Linked DNA regions of Homo sapiens: region 1 is linked to region 2. The links are contacts of gene promoters, found by promoter capture Hi-C in blood cells and fetal thymus (Javierre and others, 2016). All regions are on one chromosome and are shown on one strand. The core of a region is centred on a gene start or on the middle of the fragment in contact, and the rest is flanking DNA. Distances in the headings are between cores, read along the strand shown. Region 1 overlaps CFDP1 (craniofacial development protein 1). Region 2 holds the start of MLKL (mixed lineage kinase domain like pseudokinase).

What was found. Contacts are between HindIII fragments. The CHiCAGO score rates a contact against its expected background, and 5 or more counts as called.
Region 1: a fragment that was not itself captured here is called in contact with the fragment with the promoter of MLKL in region 2 in 4 of 17 cell types (M1 macrophages, fetal thymus, erythroblasts and 1 more); the score reaches 6.2 in M1 macrophages.

Annotation. Positions count from the first base shown.
Region 1 is chr16:75,376,159-75,383,031 of GRCh38, reverse strand. All of the region lies in intron 5 of CFDP1 (craniofacial development protein 1), which reads left to right. Among named protein-coding and RNA genes, the nearest start is that of CFDP1, 54 kb to the left of the region's middle. RefSeq lists enhancers at 2,406-2,515, 5,928-6,425. The HindIII fragment of the contact is 3,092 bases long and covers 2,423-5,514 here.
Region 2 is chr16:74,695,051-74,702,153 of GRCh38, reverse strand. MLKL (mixed lineage kinase domain like pseudokinase) reads left to right here and starts at 1,292. Exons shown (of 11, transcript NM_152649.4): 1 at 1,292-1,701; 2 at 6,395-6,856. The coding sequence starts at 6,397. RefSeq lists an enhancer at 1,389-1,838. The HindIII fragment of the contact is 1,546 bases long and covers 1,043-2,588 here.

The sequences.
Region 1 (6,873 bases), core at 2,719-5,218, 680 kb before region 2:
TAAGACCATAAAACATAACCTTTTGATTATTAGCATTTCCTTGAATTTGAAATGTAGTACAATTTCAGTAGTTGCTAATTTGAGAATGTGTAGGAAAAACTCATGCTTTGCATTGGCTTCTGCTTTAAACTGAGATCTTTTAGTCCTAGCTGCTTGTGAGATGATGTGCCTGTAGGAAGTGGAAACAAAAGGAGAAGAGTTTTCCCCCACAGTCAAATAGAGCATGACATGACTTGTTTGGCCAGAGGTGAGAATTAGGAAGATCCAAGGAATATCATGTACAAAAATGCTCTTGATCTTGGTCTCTTGTATAGCGTTACTTGCTTCAAAGCAAAACTTGGAGGAAAAGTTTCCTTTAGAACAGTAACCACAAGCATCACGTCTGCTTTTCAGCCATGTTTCTGTGTTGTGCTGTGGGGTTAACTAAATCCAAATTTTTGATACCATTTCAAAAGGGCACGCTGATTTAGCCTGTGTTAGACCAGTCTGACCTCAATTTCTCTGTCTTGAGGTGGTGAAACCAGCTTTCCTATTGGGCTAACTTGGATCAGCTGTGTGTTTCACAGTATCCTGCAAGCCTAAGCCAGGCAGAATTTCAGCTGTGTAAAGGCTTAGATTATGAAGTATCTATCTGTCTTTATAGAATATATTTTTTAAACCCTTTGAAGTAGAACTTCTAACACCATAATGAAAGCAAAGGATCAGTGTTTTCGAGGGATACTAGGGAAGGTCTGTGACAAAGACTTTTATTTTCCTTATATTTTATCAATCACTCAGGAAATTAGTTGGCAGTGGAAAATGGAACACAACTCTATCCCAATATAGTATGTCATCTAATTATGGTACTCTATCTCAGAATACCCCTTCTCAGTAAGACTGGTATGCCTCTGAGCTTTTTTTTTTTTTTTCTTTTTTGAGACAGGGGTTTCACTCCTGTTGCCCAGGCTGGAGTGCAGTGGCAAGATCTCAGCTCACTACAACCTCTGCATTCTGGCTCAAGTGATCTTCCCACCTCAGCCTCCTGTGTAGCTGGGACTACAGGCATGCACCACCATGCCTGGCTAATTGTCTCTGAGCTTTCGACTGCTACCTTTCTTATATTTGCTTAGGGTTTTCCCAAGATTCATAGGCCTCTTGTCTTTATGCATCTAATAGTATCATCTACTGCTACAACTTTAACCATCTTTTCAACACTGATGATTCTCCCTCTGCTCTGTCCTTTCAGTACTGCTTTTCTCCTGAACTCCAGACCCATATCTCTTGCTGCTTGCAAGCAGTTTATTCTGAATCCCCTTGACTCCACAACTGGTCCAGTATTTAACTCAGTTTCCCTAAATCCTCCCATATTACAGAAGTGAAGAAACCAACATGTGAAATTCAGTAGCTTGCCAAAGAGAGAGAACCTGGACTAGAAATCTGAGGCTTCTTTCCAGTCTAGTGTTCTCATCTGCTGGGCCAAAACTGCCTGTCGTTGGTAGAGGGAGAATATACCACTATTTTCCTCAATAGTAGTTGAGCCCCAACCTCAGTGTCACCTTTAGTTTTTCCCTTTCTTGTCTTTCCCCCTAGCCCCTAACTGCCCAATCCAATGAGTCCTTTTAACTCTACTCCCAAAATGTCTGTAAGTATTCATTCATATCCCCCTCCCTCATTTTATCTCCACTCTCATTGCCTTTTTTCTGGGTCTTACATTCTTTCTTTTTTAAAAAACTATTTTAATTTTAATTTTTTATTGAGACAGGGTCTCACTTTGTTACCCAGGCTGGTCTCCAACTCCTGCCTTCAGGCATTCCTCCCATGTTGGCCTCTGAAAGTGCTGGGATTACAGGTATGGGCCATTGCTCCTGGCCCTGGGTCTTACATTCTGAAGCATCTGTCACTATGTAATTAGAATATTTTCTAAAATCTTTTGAAAGGCTTGGACTATTGTAATCATTTCCTAAGTTTACATAAAGTCTGTAGTCACTCTTCCTCTCTCCACTCTACGTGCCACTGCTGGGGTAATTTGGCAGAGATTTAGCTTAGATAGTGTCACATGCTCAAAAATTTTATCTTTGTTGTCTATTAGTAAGTTCTAGTTTATTGAACTGCTACTGTCGATTGCTAACTCTCAAAAAAATCCTTCAGTTCACTGTCAGTATTTCCTTTTATGTTTAATATGTTTTTACTCTTTAGCGAGGTTTTATCTGTGGTGTGATCTTATATGACCTGGTTTTAAAAAGTGGGGATGAATTTGCTTTTTCTAGATGCTCTTGCCTGGGCCAATTTTTATGTTAATTCTTTGGTTTGGAGTGCCTGGAACATTCAGATATTATAATTGAAAGTATAATTTTGAAGCCCAAATCTATGTGGGTTGCAGGCCCAGGGTTCGTTCCGGTTCTTAAAAGAGACCTTTCTTCCTACCCGCTACAGCCCAAAAGCTTAGATACACTTTCTTCTCTGTTCCTTGGGCTGTTATGTGATTTTTTTTTTTTCCTAACTCTTTCCTTTCATTGAGGATGCATTGACTTTCCACTTTTAGCCTTAGTTCTAGTTCTCTACTGCCTGTAAGCTCAAGACCATTTTTATTATCACGTGGCAAATAAAACCCCGACTGGAAGTTATTGAAACTGTCTTCCCCCACCCCACCCTGCCGGCTGTAACCACTATTTCAGCTCATGTGCTCTACTGTGGTTTTCAGTTCCTTCTTTGATCCAAATACCCGGAGGTTGCCCATTCTTTCTTATGAGTTTAGCTATACACTTAAAATAATTTTTGGTATATTTTATGTAGCATTTCTAGGTCTTTATCTGGAAAATGTTTAGGTTATCTTAAGTATCCATCTTGCCTAAAATGGAAGTTCATCGGCTTTAAGTGCAGATACCCTATGTAGCTTTTCTTTCTTTTTTTTTTTTCAGATGGAGTTTTGCTGTGTTGCCCAGGCTGGAGTGCAGTGGCACAATCTCAGCTCAGTGCAACCTCCACCTCCTGAGTTCAAGCGATTTTCCTGCCTCAGCTTCCTAAGTAGCTGGGACTACAAATGAGTACCTGCACGCCTGTCTAATTTTTGTATTTTTAGTAGAGACAGGGTTCCACCATGTTGCCCAGGCTGGTCTCAAACTCCTGGGCTCAAGTGATATGCCCATCTCGGCCTCCCAAAGTGCTTAGATTACAGGCATGAGCCACTACGCCCAGCAATCCCTTTACCTTTAAAAAAATAAATAAATAAACCTTTAATTTTAAGAGGTTGTATACTCATGTGTAGTCATATAAACTAGTGCAGAGATTCCTTGTTCCTTTGACCCAGTTTCCCCCTATGGTACCATCTTATAATATTACAACTGGGATATTTACATTGACAGATATAGTCAAGATACAGAACATTTTCATATCTGCTAAGATTCCTCATGTTCTCTATAGCTACATACACTTTCCTCCTGCCCTCACCCCCTCCTTAACCTCTGGTAATCACTAATCTAGAGATTTCCTTTTTGGGAGTTTTTAAATGACAAATTGTTTCCTTAATAGTTACAGGGCTCTTTCATATTGAGTGTCTTGTGGTTTGTCTTTTTTGAGGAATTAGTCTATGTTGCCAAATTTATTTGGGTAGAATTCTGCATAATATTCTCTTATCCTTTTGATACTTGTAGTGATATCCCATTTCATTACCTCCGATATTGGTAATTTGTGCCTTCTCTCTCTCTCTCTTTTTTTTTTGGTCAGTCTTGCTAGACGTTTGTCGATTTTATTGATCTGTTCAAAGAACCAGCTCTGTTTCATTGATCTTTCCCTTTATGTTTTCAATTTCATTTACTTCTATAATTATTTCCTTGCTTCTGCTTGGTTTGCCTATATATTGCTCTTTTTTTTTACTAGATTCTTGAAGTTGGAGCTTAGATTATTGATTTGAGACTTTTCCTCTTTACACTGTATGTATTTCTTACTACACATTTCCCTCACACTGCTTTAGCTATATTCAACAATTTTTGATACATGTATGATTTTATTCCGTTCATTATTTTTTTAATTCCCTTGAGACTTTCTTTTTGACCCATGCATTATTTAGAAGTGTATTGTTCCATTTCCAAGTTTTCAGAGAGTTTTCTGTTGTCTTTCTGTTGTTGCTTTCTAGTTTGATCATGTTGCTGGTGAACACATTCTTTGTGATTTCAACTCTTTTAAATTTGTTGATATTAATTTTATGGGCCAGGATGTGGTCTGTCTTGTATATTCTGTGGACACTTGGAAAGACCAGTATCTTTGTTTTTACCCCAATATCTTTTAAATAAATTCCTTTTTTGTCGGCCAGTCAGTGTCTGTGTCTTGCACTAAACTCTAACTACTACCCCTTTGCAACTGCATTTGTTTAATAGCCTTTATTGTAGCACTAACTATCCCATACTCCCTCATCGTCAGTTTTACACCTTAGTCTCCATCACTACGCTGTGAGCTTGAAGGCGTAGATTTTGTCTTTTTTGTATGTGTCCAGCCTGGTACGTGGCAAATAATTTATAGTATTTGATTAAGGAGTAAATGAATAGCTTTTATTAATGATCACCATTTTTTAAAACTTTGATCTGTGGAAATTTAGTTCTTATCCTTTTAGTTTTGCATATTTTGTCAGTTTTCATCTTAAAAGCAGGGTGGTTTTGGTTTCATAGCTTGTGTTCAGCAAGTAGCTGACCCCAAAAACAGACTGTAAATGTCTGTTATATGATTGGAATGACATTTTATTTCAGCTTAATCATGCCATAGTTCAAGCAGAGACGTGAGATGCTCCTTACTCATTCCACAAGACCTATTTTGCAATTCCTGCTATTTCCTTTATTTCAGGTTGACTTGTCCTCTAGTTGTAGAAGTGTTGTTTCCATAGCAATGCAGCTTACAACGCACATCCCTGTCAGAGTGCACAGAAACCCTGCTGTGTTGCCTGGAAGCCTTGTTTTCCAGTCAGAAAGGAAGCACATGGTATTCCCTCAGCCTTTCCTGCACTTAACTTTGGCTTGCCTTGTGGATAACAAGAAACTCTTGGTTGTTTTCTACCATAGATGCTGGGTTAAAATGTATCTAAGGGATTTTGATGTATAATGTGCCCTGTTACTACAGTGTTCAGGCTGTGGCTGGTGACTGCTAGCGAAGTTGCTGCGTGAAATAGATGTAGGGGACGTTACAGGAATGTGAGCTAAACAGTCTGCCACTCAGCATGAAATTCTATTTATTGCTAAAGCAGTTTGGGGCAACTGCATGTTTGTTGCTTTGGATGATTTTCTTTTGGTTTTTACTGCCTATGAGAACACAATAGAACTGAGTGAACCTCGAGAAGTGGAGAAGCAAACTGTTGGCCTTTCTGAGTGGTTTCCCTGACCTTCAACTAGGAGCATATTTAGTGACTTCATGTTTTTCTTCCTTTGGAACTAAATTGACTAGATTGTACTTGAACACAAGGAGTCTTTTTCATATCTTCTCTCACATTTAGTTTCTTCTTTGCCACCTTTTTCTTTTCTTTATTTCTTTTGTTACTTCAGCTGGAAAGCTTGTTATATGGACATTCATTGGAAATATTCAAGAAAGAGTTGAGTTATAAATAGAGCAGGATTTCAGAGAGACAAGGATATCATCTTAATTGTGATTGGTCAATAAATTGAAGAGATTTGTGTGGACTCACACCAATATAGTGGTAGAAGAATGATGGAGAGCATTTTAATGATAATTATACTCCACACTTCAATATTTTCTCAGTCTTCATGTATTCATCTATTCATCATGTATCAAACAGCATTCATTAAGTACTGCTTTTTGGTTCCCATAGCATTTGACTTTTATGGCAGGAGGTAGGTTCATTATCACAGGGGCCTTAAGTGTTCAATTTAATGAGTTTTCACAATTGAATACATCCATATAACTGATACAGGGCACAGCCAAGCCCCCAGTTGGGGCTTAGCCCTGGAGGGTCTTGGCTTTGCTCAGGAAGTAATTCAAGAGCTAGCTGGTGGTAGAAGAAAACAGCTTTATTGAAGCGGCAGTGTTAACAGCTCCTTGACTGCTCCTGCAGAGCAGGGTTACCGCATAGGCATTGTGCTGAGAGTAGCAGCTCAGGGCAGTTCTGCAGTCATATTTATATCTACTTTTAATTACATGCAGATTAAGGGGCAGTTTATGCAGAAATTTCTAGGAAAAGGGTAATAACTTCTGGATCGTCAGGTCATTGCTCTGGGAAGGGGCGGTAACTCTCAGGTGTTGTCATACCAATGGTAAACTGACATAGCACACTGGTGGGTGTGTCTTACAGAAAGCCGCTTCTGCCCCATACCTGTTTTAGCTAGTCATCAATTTGGTTTGGTATCCAAGCCCTGCCTCTGGAATCCTGTCCTGCCTACTACTTCATAGCCACTATCCAAGATAAGGTATAGTATGATTCCGTCACTCCAGAAAGTTCCCTCATGCCCCTTTCCAGTTGCTTTTGCCCTATGCTCTTTGCCCCAGGCAACTACTGATTTTTATCATGATAGATTAGTTTTGCTTTTCCAGAACGTCATGGAAATCAAAGCATACATTTTTTAAATTTTTGTGCCTGGATTCTTTTACCTACAGTGAAAGAACATGTATTTGAGACTTATCATGTTGCTGTGTATATCAGTGGTTCATTGCTTTTTATAAATTGTTCATATATACCACAGTTTATCCATCTATCCTGCTGATAAACGTATGGGTTATTTCCAAATCTTTTTGAAGACATATGTTTTTATTTATCTTGGGTACCTAAATACCTAGGAATGGAATTGCTAGGTCATGGAGTAGATGTGTGCTTAATGTTTTTGTTTTGGTTTTGATTTGGTTTTTCTGAGACAGGGTCTTGCTCTGTCACTCAGGCTGGAATGCAATGGCATAATCACA
Region 2 (7,103 bases), core at 43-2,542:
CCCATGGAGCCTCCACTGACTACATACTTGTTTCACTTTTTCTTCCTCTGCCCTATCATACCCACCACTCTCCTAAGAGTCTTCCTTCAATAAATCACAGGCACCTGTGTTACTTGTTGAAGGTGTCCAGGTTCTTGGCATCTTGAACAAAGAAATGGGCAAAATGCACAAAGCAAGGAAAGAATGAGGCAACAAAAGCAGAGATGTATTGAAAACAAAGGTACACTCCACAGGGTGGGAGCCAGCGTGAGCATAGGGGCTCAAGAACTCCGTTACAGAATTTTCTGGGATTTAAATACCCTCTAGAGGCTCCCATTGGTTAATTGGTGTACACCCTATGTAAATGAAGAAGATGAAGTGAAGTTGCTCAGTCACTTACTCAGTGAACGCCATATGTAAATGAAGAAAATATTTCCTGTCATAGCTGAAATGTGTCCATTTTATTTAGTTCTAAGAAGTCAGCGTGAATCAGCTTTATGTTCCCTGCCTGCAGACCCTATTCTCCTGCCTCACCTCAATCTCTTCACCTAAGACAGGAAGAAAACTGATGATGCAGGAGACGAAGAACAATAGCAAGGCGAAGAAATGAATCTCCAAGGCCGGCTTCAAGCGATTCTCCCCTCTCAGGCTCCCGAGTAGCTGGGATTACAGGCATGCACCACCACGCCTGGCTAATTTTTGTATTTTTAGTAGAGACAGGGTTTCCCCATGTTGGCCAGGATGGTCTTGAACTCCTGACCTCAGGTGATCTGGCCACCTCCGCCTCCCAAAGTGCTGGAATTACAGGCATGAGCCACCACACCCAGCTCCCAGTTCTGTTCTTTTAGAGGCAAATAGTCTGTTGAGTAAATGCATAACACTACTTAGACTTTCTAGCTGAAGATGTAGTTAATCTTAAGAAAACCTGACTCACACTGTAACAGGATGTTCTGCAATGACCTTAGAAGAGGAAGTGACTTTTTTCCCACTTTGGTGTCTCTTCCCTCGTACCCTCCCCACCCCGCCAATATTATCCAGCACAGAGAAGCAAACACCAGAAGCTTCTCTCCAACTTTCAGTTTTTCTCTAAACTTCCAGTCCTTCTCATACTGTGTCCTGGTTATAATAGTTGCTGGGACCTTATTCTATTCTGAATCCCCAGCCCCTAAAGAAGGCTTGGTACTGACGTGTACAGCGTAGTTACCCAGTGACTTTGGGGAAGGCAGGAAGAGTGTGGAAAGGACAGGAGGAAGGAAGGGAGGGGCCGTGGCTCCGAGCTGCCTAGAAAGCGGCTCCAGGGAGCCAGGGCACCGTGAGCCTGGTGGTTGGCAGCTGGAGCCACGTCGGAGGGGGAAGTGTCGCAGCATTCTCTGCAGGCATCACAGACCTGAGGCAGTGGCCTCCGGAGGGCACTGGACAGAAACAGCCATCCAAGTGGCTGAGTGGAGGGACCCTGCTCAAGTGCAGCTGCAGTGGCCGGGGTTTCCCTCAGGTAGGGATCGGGGCGCCTTGTCGCCGCCAGCCACGTGTGGCGTCCGGTACAGTCAGCAGAGTGCAGGGTGCGGGCACCAGGAAAGGGGGCGCAGGGGAACTCCCGCGGGCCTCGCGTTTGCAAACTTCTCGCCTGGGCAGGAGGCGGTCGTGGGAAAGAAGGTGGAAGAGCGAGCTTTTTGGAACTGTGCACGGGACAGATTGGACGCACACCCCTCGGGAGGCGCGAAGGTGAGCATGGGGTCTTCCCAGGAGGCGGCGGGGCCGAGGGGCTGCAGCCGAATTCCTGGACGGTGATGGGAAGAACCAGGGGTGAGGGTGGCCCGGTCCGAGTTCCTGGAACTCAGGACCGAGTTGGTTTCATTTCCTCAGCTCTGATGGTGGAGCTGCCTGCTCGGATCTCGCACTACCTTCCGCCAAAGCGAGACGCCCAGTAGCAGTGGGGGTCGTGGAGGGCAGGGGCACGGGAACAAGTTACCTGATGTCTTCTCAGAAAAAGGAAGTCTTCAGGTTTGCAGGCTGAAGGCGTGAGAGAGAGACAGAGTGAGAGAGAGAGAAGAGGGAAATGCCTGATAACCTTTACTTATTTTATTTTATTTTTATTTTTTATTTTTTGGAGGGAAGAGGTGAATTTGCATTGTTATTACCATTTAAAGATTTTTCACTTTTAAAATTAGTAACCTGTTTTCTCATCGTAACATATGAACATAATCCCCTTTTTCTTTTTATTTATTTATTTTGAGAGATGGAGTCTTCCTCTGTTGCCCAGGCTGGAGCGCAGTGGCACAATCATAGCTCACTGCAGCCTCCGAACTCATGGGCTCAAGTGATCCTCCAACCAGATCCTCCCAAGTAGCTAGGACTACAAGGTGCACATCACCACACCCAATTAAATTTTTTTTGTATTTTTTGGTAGAGCCAGGGTCTCGCTTTGTCACCCAGGCTGGTCTCAAACTCCTGGGCTCAGGTGATCCTCCTACCTCACCCTCCCAAAGTGCTGGGATTACAGGTGTGAGCCACTGCAGCTGGCCTGAACATATTCTTAGCTGTTTGTTTTACATATTATAAATAGCACTGCAGTGAACATCTCGGTAGCCATCTATCTACAAACACAAGCTTTTCTACATCATAAGTTCCTAGAAATTCAAATTGCCCAGTCTAAGTGTGTATATATGTATATTCCCTTTCTTCCCTTGTAGATCATATACTTAATAAGACCTTAAACAATTTAAGTTATTGTAGGGTGCTTTTTCCCAATATTTTGCAGTTTTTAATATATTTTAATTTCATACAGGCAAGTCCCCTTTTCTTTATTTTTTAAAATCCTGGTTATCCCTACTAATTTCCCATTTCAAATGAACTTTAGGATCATTTTGATTTAATGCCAAAATATGTCAGTAGATGTTTTATTGGAACTGCATTAAATTGGATTTAAATTTGGGAAGGATTGCTGGGTTGGTCTGTTTTAGTCTTCCCAGCCAGAAATATAACACTTCTCTTTCCTCCTTTCTTCAAGCTTTGTTTTGTGCAATTTTCTTTCTTTCTTTTTTTTTGTTTTTGTTTTTGTTTTTGAGACGGAGTTTTGCTCTGTTGCCCAGGTTGGAGCACAGTGGTGTGATCTCGGCTCAGTGCAACCTCCACCTCCCGGGTTCAAGCAATTCTCCTGCCTCAGCCTCCCGAGTAGCTGGGATTACAGGCGCCTGCTACCATGCTTGGCTAATTTTAGTATTTTTAGTAGAGATGGGGTTTCACCATGTTGGCCGGGCGATCTCAAACTCCCGACCTCAGGTGATCCACCTGCCTCGGCCTTCCAAAGCGCTGAGATTACAGGCATGAGCCAATGTGACCGCTGCAATTTTCTTCATACCATGCCACCACTGTATAATTTATTATTTGAAATTGTTTGTCAGTTCTATGGGTGGGATATTTTCCCCATTTTCCTTTCTGATTAGTTCAGTGCTGAGATATGGCTTTCTGATGAGGCTGCTGGTAAGATAACTGGAGCTTAGAGCTAGGAAGCTACAATTTGCAAGATTCCTTGAACAACATTGCCACATTTGCTTCTGTTTCTGGTGCAACAGAGAAAGTGTAAAACCTTTTGCCCTCACAATTCCCAAGAAATGGCCTTGAAGATATCTGCTTAGCACGTGGGAATAGCTGGGTAGTCTGAGATCCACTAGTCTTTTTAGGAGTGCCCTAATAACTGTTACCTCCCTTGCCCAATCACTGTAACTCTCAGGCAACAAAAACACAACTATATCGATTGCTCATTTATTTAGTTTCACTTCTGCCAGTGCCTTACTCATGTTTTAAAGCCATACTTGGGCTCCAGGCCAATTATTTTCTCCAAGCTGCTAATTAATCCATAAACTGGCGATAATACTTAACCTACCTATTTCACTGAGCTGTTAAAAAAAAAAAAACTAACTTTGTTTTTTGTTGTCGTTTGTTAGTGGTGGTGGTGGTGGTGTTTTTGAGACACTGTCTCATTCTGTTGCCCATGCTGGAATGGAGTCAGTGGCACAATCATGGCTCACTGCAGCCTCGACCTCCCAGCCTCAATCAATTCTCCCTCCTCAGGCTCCAGAGTAGCTGGGACTACAGGCAAGCACCACCACATCCAGCAAATTTTTGTATTTTTTTGTAGAGACAGGGTTTCACCATGTTGCCCAGGCTGGTCTCGAACTCAGGCTCATACGATCCCCTGGCCTCAGCCTCACAAAGTGCTGGGATTACAGGTTTGAGTCATGACACCCTACCCTAACTTTATTTTAAATACTTTGAAAACTGGTTCCATGGCCTTGTGATTATTTGAATGCAACCTCCCTGAACCGCAGCATCTTCACTTTTCACCTGTTTGTTTTTTCGAGACAGGGTCTCTCTGTTTCCCTGGCTGGAGTGCAGTGGTGTCATCATAGCTCACTGCAGCCTCAACCTCCCAGGCTCAAGCGATTCTCCCGCCTCAGCCTCCTGAGTAGCTGGGACTACAGGTCCCAGCTAATTTTTGTATTTTTAGTAGAGATGGGTCTCGCTGTGTTGCCCAGAATGGAACTCCTGGCCTCAAGCAATCTTCCCACCTCTACCTCCCAAAATGTTGGGATTACGGGTATGAACTACTGTGCCCAGATGGTATCTTCATCTGTTAAATGAAAATAACCATGGAGAGCTGGGGGTTCCAAAGCACTTAGGATGTAGTAGGTGAATTGAGAGATCTAGTGTCATAATTATTATCATCATTCATTGCTGAACGCAGTCGGCTTCAGTTGCAAATAAAGCAAACATGATTCAAACTGCCTTAAACAATCAGGGAGGTTATTGGTTCATGAAACCTGCAGTTAGGGGATGGGGTACACTTCATGTCAGTTCAAACCAGTGGCTCAATGTTGTCATCAAAGACTCAGATTCTTTCTCCCTTTCCATTCTACCATGCTCAGGTTAGCCTCATTCCAAGCTTTAGGATCAGGGCTCTGTGCTTCCTCACTCATGTTCAGAGAAGAGAGAGAGGTTAAGAGTAGGAAGCTGGCACTGCAGCCTCAACCTCCTGGACTCAAGGAATCCTCCTATCTCAACTTCCCAGGTAGCTGAGACTACGGGTGTGTGCCACCACACCAGGCTAACTTATATATATAATATATATGTAATATTATATATATGTATTACTATATATATGTAATATTATATATATGTATTACTATATATGTAATATTACATATATATTACTATATATATGTAATATTATATATATTACTATATATATGTAATGTATTACATTTTTTTGAGATGGTGCAACCTCCACCCCCTGGGTTCAAGCAATTCTCCTGGCTTAGCCCTCCGAGTAGCTGGGATTACAGGCATGCACCACCACACCTAGCTAATTTTTGTATTTTTAGTAGAGACGGGGTTTCACCATGTTGGCCAGGCTGGTTTCCAACTCCTGACCTCAAGTGATCCGCCCACCTCAGCCTTCCAAAGTGCTGGGATTACTGGCGTGAGTCACCGCGCCCAGCCAATTTTATATTTTATTTATTTCATTTTATTTTATTTTATTTTTTTTATTTTTGTAGAGAAAGGGTCTCACTTTGCTGTCCAGACTGGTCTGGAACTCCTGGCCTCAAGCAATCCTCCTGTCTCTTCCTCTCAAAGTGCTGGGATTATCGGTGGGAGCCACCTCGCCCAGCTGCATTTTTCTTAAAGGACTGTAGGAAGAAACTGAACAATTTTTTGTAGGAAAAATGAAAGATAGTCCACATGTTTTAAAAAAAAACAGAAAGAAACATATTTATCTGTGGCAGTAAAGACTACCTCAGCTCACTTCACTCATTTGAATTACCCGCCTGGCCCCTGAAACCTCTATGCTTTAGCAGGATATATCTGTAATAGACGAAACTGATATAAACATATCAACCTGAAAATATTAACGGTTTACATGCAATACAAGTTTATTCCTTGATCACTTAACAGTCCATGACAGACGTTCCAGGTCTGTGGGCAGCTCTCCTCCAAGTGATTATCCAGGGACTCAGGACTCTTCTTGGGGCTCCACCACCCCAGGGCCGCTTCACCCCACGCATCCAGCCAACCAAGGGAGAGTGTGAGGAGGCGGCACAGCTGCCCCAGTCCGAAGTAGAGCAGGTCACATGCACTTAAACCCCATTGGTGAGAACTAGTCACATGGCCACATCAAGTTGCAAGGAAGGCTGGGAGATGTAGTTCCGGCTGGACCAGCTCTTCCCAGCTACAACTCTATTATTGTGCAAGGGCAGAACAGATTTTGGTGGGTAGCAAACCATCTCTATCTTGCATGAAAATGCTGGGGAGACCTCCTCAGGCATTTAAGTCACAGACCGCTTTGATTCTTTCTTAGCCAAGTAGTGAATATGCAGGAGATTTGGGGATTTCACCAAATTCCATTCATTTCTTCCAGGCATGGAAAATTTGAAGCATATTATCACCCTTGGCCAGGTCATCCACAAACGGTGTGAAGAGATGAAATACTGCAAGAAACAGTGCCGGCGCCTGGGCCACCGCGTCCTCGGCCTGATCAAGCCTCTGGAGATGCTCCAGGACCAAGGAAAGAGGAGCGTGCCCTCTGAGAAGTTAACCACAGCCATGAACCGCTTCAAGGCTGCCCTGGAGGAGGCTAATGGGGAGATAGAAAAGTTCAGCAATAGATCCAATATCTGCAGGTTTCTAACAGCAAGCCAGGACAAAATACTCTTCAAGGACGTGAACAGGAAGCTGAGTGATGTCTGGAAGGAGCTCTCGCTGTTACTTCAGGTTGAGCAACGCATGCCTGTTTCACCCATAAGCCAAGGAGCGTCCTGGGCACAGGAAGATCAGCAGGATGCAGACGAAGACAGGCGAGCTTTCCAGATGCTAAGAAGAGGCAAGCTGGGTCTTTGGTGGGGAGTGGGAGTGCAGTTGAATGCATTTTAGTCTCACTTTAATTTACCAAAGGAGCAGCAATGATGAAGTTTGAGCAGTTGTAATATACTTGTACCTCAAAACTCCTAGCTGGGCGCGATGGCTCTCGCCTGTAATCCCAGCACTTTGGGAGGCCGAGGCGGGCTGATCACTAGGTCAGGAGACTGAGACCATCCTGGCTAACACGGTGAAACCCCGTCTCTACTAAA